3 separate regions of the Homo sapiens genome follow, and all the other regions are linked to region 1. The links are contacts of gene promoters, found by promoter capture Hi-C in blood cells and fetal thymus (Javierre and others, 2016). All regions are on one chromosome and are shown on one strand. Each heading gives the region's core, a stretch centred on a gene start or on the middle of the fragment in contact. The rest is flanking DNA. Distances are from core to core; before and after follow the strand shown.

What was found. Contacts are between HindIII fragments. The CHiCAGO score rates a contact against its expected background, and 5 or more counts as called.
Region 2: a fragment that was not itself captured here is called in contact with the fragment with the promoter of IFT172 in region 1 in 1 of 17 cell types (endothelial precursors); the score reaches 7.3 in endothelial precursors.
Region 3: a contact is called between a fragment that was not itself captured here and the fragment with the promoter of IFT172 in region 1, in 1 of 17 cell types (endothelial precursors). The highest score is 6.5, in endothelial precursors.

What each region holds. Positions count from the first base shown.
Region 1 is chr2:27,487,874-27,491,037 of GRCh38, forward strand. IFT172 (intraflagellar transport 172) reads right to left here and starts at 1,870. Exons shown (of 48, transcript NM_015662.3): 1 at 1,742-1,870. The coding sequence starts at 1,780. The HindIII fragment of the contact is 7,682 bases long and covers 1-3,164 here.
Region 2 is chr2:27,649,962-27,653,533 of GRCh38, forward strand. GPN1 (GPN-loop GTPase 1) reads left to right here. Exons shown (of 14, transcript NM_007266.4): 14 at 154-1,550. The coding sequence ends at 239. It overlaps SUPT7L (SPT7 like, STAGA complex subunit gamma), which reads right to left. Exons shown (of 6, transcript NM_014860.3): 6 at 848-3,572. The coding sequence ends at 3,524. Among named protein-coding and RNA genes, the nearest start is that of SUPT7L, 12 kb to the right of the region's middle. RefSeq lists an enhancer at 2,646-3,572. The HindIII fragment of the contact is 7,798 bases long and covers 1-3,572 here.
Region 3 is chr2:27,666,376-27,669,601 of GRCh38, forward strand. It overlaps SLC4A1AP (solute carrier family 4 member 1 adaptor protein), which reads left to right. Exons shown (of 14, transcript NM_018158.3): 3 at 893-1,015; 4 at 2,468-2,528; 5 at 2,873-3,012. Among named protein-coding and RNA genes, the nearest start is that of SLC4A1AP, 4.1 kb to the left of the region's middle. The HindIII fragment of the contact is 2,905 bases long and covers 61-2,965 here.

The DNA.
Region 1 (3,164 bases), core at 620-3,119:
TGCGCCTGGCCTAGAACCATGATTAAATCCATGTATGTGTAAATCCATAAACCATAATCCCAATTTCTTTATTAAGGTACCCCAGTACATATTACACACTCAGTTATGGAACATCTTATTTATTTTTAAGACACAGCCTCACTCTGTCACCCAGGCTGGAGTGCAGTGGTGTGATCACGTCTCACTGCAGCCTCGACCTCCTGGGCTCAGGAGATCCTCCCACTTCAGTGACCCCAGCAGCTGGGCCTACAGGTGCTTGCCACCACACGAGGCTATTTAAAAAAAATTTTTTTTTTTTGGACAAAGTCTCACTCTTGTCCCCCAGGCTGGAGTGCAGTGGCACGATCTCGGCTCACTGCAACCTCCACCTCCCGGGTTCAAGCGATTCTCCTTCCTCAGCCTCCTGAGTAGCTGGGATTACAGGCGGCTGCTGCCACGCCCGGCTAATTTTTGCATTTTTAGTAGAGATGGGGTTTCACCATGTTGGCCAGGCTGGACTTGAACTCCTGACCTCAGGTGATCCGCCCGCCTCGGCCTCCCAAAGTACAGGGATTACAGGTGTGAGCCACCGCACCTGGTCAAAATTTTTTTGTAGAGGTCTTGGAATCTTGGGCTCAAGTGATCCTCCCACCTTGGCCTCCCAAATTGCTGGGATTACAGGTGTGAGCCACTGGGCCTGGCCAGACATCTTATTCTTATTAGCTTTGTATTATTCTGTCCTTTGAATTTTGAATGTCCTTTCCTCTTGTCTATCAATTTTTCACACTGCTTTTCAGTTTACAATGCTCTTTTGTGTATATTACTCTATATAACTCTTCCCCAAGTCCCCTAAAGTTGCTATTAGTACTCATGTTTTTTCAAATGAAGAAGTTGGTGAGTGCTCCGAGACATTGTATAATAAAGGCTAAAGTTAGAGATATCAGGTCATTTGTTTAAAGTACTGGTGGCCAGTCTGGGCAACATGGGGAAACCTCGTCTCTACAAAAAACAAAAACAAAAACAAACAAAGAAACAAAAAATTACCCGGGCGTGCTAGCGCACGTCTGTAATCCCAGCTACTTGGGAGGCTATGGCAGGAAAATCCCTTGAACCCGGGAGGCGGAGGTTGCAGTGAGATCGAGCCACTGCACTCCAGCCTGGGCAACAGAGCAAAACTCTGTCTCAAATAGTTAAATAAAGTAGTGGTTGACCTGAAATAAGGACAAGGTAAGAAATTTTAAAAAGAAAATAAGAAAGTAGTGGTGGAGCTAGGACTTAAATTCTGGTGTGCTAACTCCAAAGCCCACCCTTTCTTCACCATGTTTCAGGGCTCCTCCCCTAGTGCCCAGCCTCTCCTGAATCAGAATACACGGTTCGGTCTTTGCACTCCCCCTTCAGGGCTTGCACCTAAGGCGCTTATTTAATTATGGGCACATGCATACTCGCTGCTTACATGTGCACCTCACCCTCTAATACGAGCCTCCTGAAGGGAGGGACATAAGTCGGGTGGTTTGGGATTCCTACGAACCCCAGCATGGGGCCTGTACACAACTGATGTGAATGAAATGTAAGGAAAGCTACAAGTCCTTAGCCCTGCATCTCGCCTCCTGGACGCTGTATCGACAGGCCAAGATCCAGATCATCGCTATATCCCTTACAGCCTTCTGCACACAGTAGGAGGTCAACATCATTAAACTTCAGTTCCCCCACTTTTCTTGGAACATAAAGCATAAGGGGGAGGGACTGGCACGCAATTCCTCACCTGAGGGCTCAGCAGGGTCCTCAGGTGCTTCAAGTGCATGACGCACACCTGTCTTTCAGATGCTCCTAGACAGCGACAACTCCCGTGGTTACCTGGACAACCCGCCACGCAGCCGCAGCGACAGGCACTGACGCTTATGCGACCGGAGCGCAACACGCGTCGCAAGGTCACACGTAACTTTGCGGCGAAGCAAACAGAACGTGCGCAAGCGCGGTGAGATCTAGGGCGGGCCCTTGAGAGGGCTTCATGAATGTTCTCCTTGACCAATCCCGTCGCCGCATGCAAACTCAAGACCAAGCCCCGCCCACAAGCCTTCAGCCAGCCCCAGGTCCTACGTCATAGCGGTCCGTCTCGCTCTTCGATGTACCTGACTTTCTGAGTGCACTCTCTTAATCCTCACAACTCTGGAGGGAAGCAGGGCGGTTTCCATGATAGGCCTTCTGCAGTTGACGGAATTGTACCCAAATAGGTTACATGATTTGCACGGGATCGCAAGGCTAATAACGATAGCTAACGATGAATACTCAGTATGTGTCTGCCAGGTACTGTGTAAAGTATTGTACGTGCATTTATATCATTTAATCCCAAAACCACCTTTTGAAGGGGATAGCGTTATTATTAGTCTCATTTTACATAACAGGAGACTCAGGGCACTTGCTCAAACTAACACAGCCAGCGAAGGACTTGGAACTGGAGTTCAACCCAGAGTTAGTAGCTTTAAACAGCTTTTATGTTCCTTCTCAACTCCTAGCTCGCTCTCTCCATGCCACGATACTATAACCTGTCACATTCCCATCCCAATAAATGACATTTATTCTCAGAATCTGGAAGATGAGTGTTTTGGAACTAGCTGCCAAAGAAACGTAAGGTACCCTACTTCCTAATTGGGTAATGGTGGGTTAAAGACTGCTGTTTACATTGGAATGTTTTTATGGTTCAGTTTGTTGTTGTTGTTGTTTTGAGACAGAGTTTCACTCTTGTTGCCCAGGCTGGACTGCAATGGCGCGATCTTGGCTCACTGCAACCTCTGCCTCCCGGGTTCAAGAGATTCTCCTGCCTCAGCCTCCCAAGTAGCTGGGATTACAGGCATGTGCCACCACGCCCGACCAATTTTGTATTTTTAGTAGAGACAGGGTTTCTCCATGTTGGTCAGGCTGGTCTCAAACTCCCGACCTCAGGTGATTTGCCCGCCTTGGCCTCCCAAAATGCTGGGATTACAGGCGTGAGCCACCGTTCTCGGCCTGTGGTTCAGTTTTGAGGGCAGACCTGACTTGGCTCACCCGATAGGTTGTCTTGTGATACCTGGGGTTAGAGATTGGTTAAGTAGAAAAGAGACTGACTTGTTGATCTTTGGAGTCCCGTTCAGAATTTTTGGCCTATCTTCTAACATACCAGAGAGATTGAAATGCAGAAAGGAGTTATT
Region 2 (3,572 bases), core at 271-2,770, 160 kb after region 1:
AGAGCATGCTTCTAGGAGACATTTCCTTTTTGAGGGAAGTGAGTACTTAAGTTTCTTAGAAGTAATGTACTGTTTTCTGATGGATGGGTGACGGGCTCTAATCAGTTTGTCTAATGAAAGAGTTGAAAAAGAATTGCCCTTTTTTCCTTGCAGTTACAGAGGAAAGCCATGAAGAGCCAGCATTCCAGAATTTTATGCAAGAATCGATGGCACAATACTGGAAGAGAAACAATAAATAGGAGACTTTAGCACACTTCACTTGTTTCTAGAAGTCCAGAATTTTGGACCTCCACGTGAAAGAACTGTTCTTACCTCTGAACTGGGGGCTCCCATAAGGGATAATTTTCCTCAGAGTAGCAAAGTTTCTCTTATTAGAGAAATCTTGTGACTCAGATGAAGTCAGGGATAGAAGACCCTTGGACCTGGCAGGTTAATGCTGATTATTCCTTGGCCTTTCCCTTGTATTTATGCAAGGAAGGATATACTGAGCTGATACTCTTCCAAGCCTACAACTTCAAGTTTTATCATTTGAACTCAAGTACTTTTGCTGCTGAGGAATGGAATCAAAAGAACGTAGTCTCCTGGTGACCACCTCAGATCTCTATTATTAGGCTAGATGTATAGCCTCTACTCCCCCAGCTTCTTGCTCTTGACCCTGCACTGTAAGTTGCCCTTCTATTAGCAGCCAAGGAAAAGGGAAACATGAGCTTATCCAGAACGGTGGCAGAGTCTCCTTGGCAATCAACCAACGTTGCTATGAAATATGCCTCACACTGTATAGCTCATTATAGGACGTCAGGTTTGTTGAAAAAAGTGGGCAAGACATGATTAATGAATCAGAATCCTGTTTCATTGGTGACTTGGATAAAGACTTTTTAATTTTAACTTTGTTCTAAGACTGCTTGTCATGATTTCAAATTAGAAAATTATATAATTGCAAACAGCTTCACTTCTCCTGTTCAACAGAGGCTTAAGGCCAGATGTCCAAACTTGTCTCAATAAGGAGGTGATATTTTACTAAAGTTTCCCACGTGCACATACTGACTAAATACAGAGCTAGGCCCAGTTTGTATTGTACTCTGAACTTAATGCAAAGTCTCCTTGGTGATTTTCGCAAAGTCCGTGGATTTGGGTCAGAGGCACATTTCATACATAACAGCCCTTATAAACGTTTGCCCTGCCTCCACATTTTACAGTATCTTAAAACAGTACATTTCTTTCAAAGAATTTTATCTCTATGAGTCAGTACTCCAACTTAGTGGTTCTCACATTGTGGACCAGGAGCATCAGCATCATCTGGGGAATTGTTCAACTTACCTCTTATAACCTATGAACTCAGAAACCCTGGGGGTGGGCTGAGCAGTCTGTTTTAGAAAGCCCTCCATGTGATTCTGATGCATAGTAGCCTATGACATAATTCCAGACCAGGTGAATCTCAAGATACTAATCCTCACATCATTTGCCTTCTCATATTTCCCTCGTCTTGACCATCTGGTGCCTGTTATGCAGTTTAACATTCTGCAGCAATAAAAGTGTTTTATTATAAAGTATTAATTTTAATGTTCTATACTTAGTGGGAACCACTGGTCTCAAAATTTGAAGCTATTCTTTAAGAGGAGAACATTCGCAAAACTCAAGCATACTTGGTTTTTCTCTGTAGTACTTTTGAATGCTTTATCTTCCTTACAGAATAACTTGTCTTCCTTATGCTTCAAGCTCCAAAAGGGTAAGGAAGAAGTCTTAATCATTTTTGTATTCCTTGCACAGGACCTAGCAAATAATTGGTACTCAATGTTTGCTGGATGAATGAACTAAATTCCCATACGGCCACTTTATGGAAACTAACTGCCTAATCGCCACTTTCATTATAAACAAAGGAAAATGAAGATAAGACTGCAACAGAGGCCAGGTGCAGTGGCTCACGCCTGTAATCCCAGCACTTTGGGAGCCCGAGGCGGGCAGATCACTTGAGGTCAGGAGTTTTGAGACCAGCCTGGCCAACACGGTGAAACCTCATCTCTACTAAAAATGCAAAAATTAGCTGGGTGTGGTGGCATGTGCGTGTAATCCCAGCTACTCAGGTGGCTGAGGCAGGAGAATCGCTTGAACCTGGGAGGCAGAGGTTGCAGTGAGTCGAAATTGCACCATTGCACTCCAGCCTGGGTGACAGAGCAAGACTCCATCTCAAAAATAAATAAATAAATAAATAAATTAAAAAAAAGACTGTGACAGAAAGGGTTTAGAGAAATGTGCTAAAGAGTTACAATTGGCAAATTTAAAATTATATGTTAAACTATAACCTCATTTGTATCATATTCATTTATTCTCAATACCTGGGACATTTAAGGCATTCAATAATGAATTAAAGCTGTGCCTTATTTTGGTCTGCATTAAAGGAGTGGTCTAAATTTTACAAGATATATTTTGCATCAGAAAATCAAACTTCAGCAGTTTAACATGCTGGCATCCATCACCAAGGCATGAAGCAACACATTTGCTAATGATTCCTAATCACTACAGTGCTACATCATTTACTTAATAAATACTGATTCAGTACTTATATATACAGATAGTCTGATGGATGAGTAACCACAGTGATGTTGTTCAGGACATGATGTAAAGTTGAAAGGTGCATATTGCTATGTTTTAAAGGCTGCCTTTACAGTAGAAGCAGCAAAGTGTGCTTAATGGACTGCTGTCCTCTGATGACCAAGCAAATGCAACAAATGAAATATGCACAAGGCTGTCCTTGGACAGTACTTGTTTGCTTTGCTCACAAAGGAGAAAAGGAAAGAAACAATTGAAAATATGTATATGGTGAAAGTATGTGAGTCCGAGCAGAAATAACAAAGGCAAAAGGATGAGGAGAGATGGAGTAAGTCTAGAGAAGAAAATAAATGGATGAGATAGAGAGCTGTCTAAGCAAAAAAGGTGTCAGACCTCTGATCTTATAAATAAGACACTTCAAAAGTAGCAAAAACAGTTTTAAGAAGGTGACTAATAGATAAGGTGTGTTGTGTTTAGCTATTTCCTGTTAGGTATTAGTAATGGGTTCCCAATGACCTGAGCCAAAAATGAATCAAGTTAAATGAAAACTGACATCTGATATGAGCATATATTATTAGTCTATTCAAGCACAGTTTTGAAGTTAGCAAACATCTAAATCCTCACATCTCTACAAGGTAGGTCAAAGTATGATTCTTCTCAGTTGTACAAGATAAATGGCTGTATAACATGTCTAGTCATAGTTAAGACAACAATTGGGGACAGTGCTTTGGTCTGATTGCCATGCCAGCATCATATTTTATCTGTGAAGGGTGGCTTGGTTGTGGAAAACTATAAAAACTGGATGCAAAAGTAAAATGCAACCTTGTTTGGTGACGTCCAGTTCCTCTGGAATTAGGAAAAACCACTTGTGTTTAAGAACAGGAGTCAAATCAATTTTTAAGGAAACAGATTCTAATACAAAAACCTTTTCTGTTGGGTCTAGTAGGTCTGGACAAAACATCTCCCTCTTTTCCTTTTATATTTTCCTCATCCTCTTCTTGCAGCGCTGGTTGAAAACAGGGGAG
Region 3 (3,226 bases), core at 263-2,762, 180 kb after region 1:
CGCCCCCCGGCCTCCCAAAGTGTAGAGATTACAGGCGTGAGCGATCGCACTCCACAGGGAAGCTTTATGAGCATAAGGATTTTGAGCTGGAACTTGAAGGAAAGGAAAAGCCTTATGAAGCTGAGTATTGGGATTGGTATTCAGGGTAGGAATTGATGATTTTAAGGAAGTTGTGAGTAGACCAGTCTATTTGGCAGATATAAGAAGTATTAGGAAATTATATTGGGAACGAAAGTTAGATATGAGTGTGAGAGAACAAGAATGCCAGGCTGAGGAGCTCAAATTTTTTTTCCACAATGTGGTAGGTAATTTTACTTTTAAAATATAATGATGGAGAAAAAAAAATTAAGGTGCCATGAAAACAAGTTTTGACTTGTCACACAATTTAGAAAACCTGAATATGCTCATACTAGTGGTTTTGTGGTGGTTGTTCCACCCCCTGTCCCTGCAAGTATTTATTATTTTTCATCACAGATAAACTATATATATATATATATTTTTTTTTTTTTGGGAGACGGTCTCACTGTGTTGCTTGGGTTGGAGTGCAGGTAGCGCGATCTTGGCTCACTACAACTTCTTCCTCCCAGGTTCAAGCAATTCTCCTGCCTCAGCCTCCCAAGTAGCTGGGATTACAGACACCCGCCACTGTGCCCAGCTAATTTTTTTTGTATTTTTAGTAGAGATGGGGTTTCACCATGTTGGCCAAGCTGGTCTTGAACTCCTGACCTTGTGATCCACCTGCCTTGGCCTCCCAAAGTGCTGGGATTACAGGCATGAGCCACTGCGCCCAGCCTAAACTATATCTTTATGCAGCCTGAGAGAATAGTGGGTATCATTCAAATAGTCTCTTCTCATGTCTGATTATCTTTTCTTTCTTTTCCATATCCTGTAGGAGAAGATGCAGTAGAGGATGATGCTGAAGAGAACCCTATTGTCTTAGAGTTTCAGCAGGAAAGGGAGGCCTTTTATATAAAGGATCCCAAAAAGGCTCTCCAAGGCTTTTTTGACCGAGAAGGTATGTAAACAGATTCTGACCCTACCACTAAAACATATCCAGAGCAGTGTGGTTTTCTAGAGCTTCATGTTGAGCTTTATACTAAGATATGCTATAATTTTATTGCTGTCCTTCTTGTTCACTTTTTACTCTTGTGGTCAGTTGCTTTAGGTTTATTTTGAAAATTATTCCTCATTAGTATGGCAGAGGGGAAAAAAATCATAAAAATCTTGTTAGTCTTTCTTCTTATCTTAAAAAAAGGAAGTACTTTTTCCTGACTCATCTCATTCTTCTCAAAAGATCCTGGACTTTGGTGGTGGGGAAATTGAGCCAACTTCCTGTAGTTTTTTAATTCCGAATTCACCTGATCTTTTGTAATTCCTAACATAGGTTTTGATTTTATATTATATGATTTAAAATTTTTTTTCCATAGAGGATTGTTTTGGTAGGAATACTTTGAGAGAATATCTATGTATATGTATGTATATCTGTATATATTTTATATGTATATATAAATAATATATGAAATAGCTGTGCACTTAATATCTGTGCTTCTAAAAACCAGGCAACTGTGTTAAAATAACCACTAAAGTCTACAACTTATAAAAGTGAAACATACTATACAGTGAACAGAGCTATGTATGGAGAATTGGTTACTTTGATCTGAGTTTGTTTTTTTCTCTGCCTCAGACTTACTCTAATTTTATTATCAGACAATAATCCCTAGGAATGAGAAGTGAAATGCATTGAAATTTATTATTCAGTGTGGTATGGGAACTTGTTCTTTTTTTTTTTTTGAGACGGAGTCTCGCTCTGTTGCCCAGGCTGGAGTGCAGTGGTGCGATCTCGCCTCACTGCAAGCTCCGCCTTCCGGATTCACGCCATTCTCCTGCGTCAGCCTCCCGAGTAGCTGGGACTACAGGCGCCCGCCACCACGCCCGGCTAATTTTTTTTGTATTTTTAGTAGAGACGGGGTTTCACTGTGTTAGCCAGAATGGTCTCGATCTCCTGACCTCGTGATCCTCCCATCTCGGCCATCCAAAGTGCTGGGATTACAAGCGTGAGCCACCGCGCCCAGCCAGAACTTGTTCTTTTTTTGAGACAGGGTCTCACTCTGTCGCCCAGGCCGGAGTGCAATGGCGCAATCTTGGCTCACTGCAACCTTGACCTCCTGGGTTTAAGCTATGCTCCGGCCTTAGCCCCCGTAGTAGCTGGGACAAAAGTCACGTACCATCATGCCCGGCTAATTTCTGTATTTTTTGTACAGATGGGGTTTTGCCATGTTGCACAGACTGGTTTCGCGCTCCTTAACTCAAGCTGTCATCCCGCCTCAGCCTCCCAAAGTGTTAGGATTACAGGCGTGAGCCACTGCTAGGAACTTGTTCGTATTTAACGTTTGTTCTCATTTATCATTGTATCAACTAGTAATTTTTGGATTCTATTAAAATTGTTTTGTCTGTCTTTCTCCCACAGGAGAAGAATTAGAATATGAATTTGATGAACAGGGACATAGCACTTGGCTCTGCAGGGTGAGGTATGCTCTTTTCTTATTAATGTTCTTTTCTGGAAAATGGCCAATTTCAGGTTTAATGTATGGTTATAGATAACAACCCAAAGAGTAACTTTCATCTAAGTTTAAGCTATTTCTAAATTTGAGCCTTTATCGTTTAGTAACCCTTATATTATTGGAGAGTGGGGTGGGATGGGTAAGAAATAGAAAGAAAATATTTTAAATCCAACATTGGAAAGATAGAACAAGATGGATTCAAAGACTGAAAGGCCATCTAAAAAAAAAATGACTATTATCATAGCATAGTAGTTGTTTTCTTGAGAATTGGAGCTTAATGCTGTGCTATAATTCCCACCAAATCAATGAAGATTACCTGTGGACGATTCAACTGGAAAACAACTGGTGGCTGAGGCCATTCACTCAGGAAAGAAAAAAGAAGCAATGATCCAGTGCTCATTGGAAGCTTGTCGGATTCTTGACACTTTGGGATTGCTTCGGCAGGAAGCAGGTCAGTATATAGGAGCCCTTTTTTTCTAGATTTAAAAAAAGGAAAACTCAACACAAACGCTAATAAAACTTCTTTATGGGGGGAAAATGTAAATTGTACAAAATTTTTTGAAGTGAAAAGAGAAAAATTCTCAATACCCTAAGGTAGCCACTGTTTATATTCTCCCAGACATTTTCTATGCATATATAGATGTGTGCTGAGACCTAGATCCTTT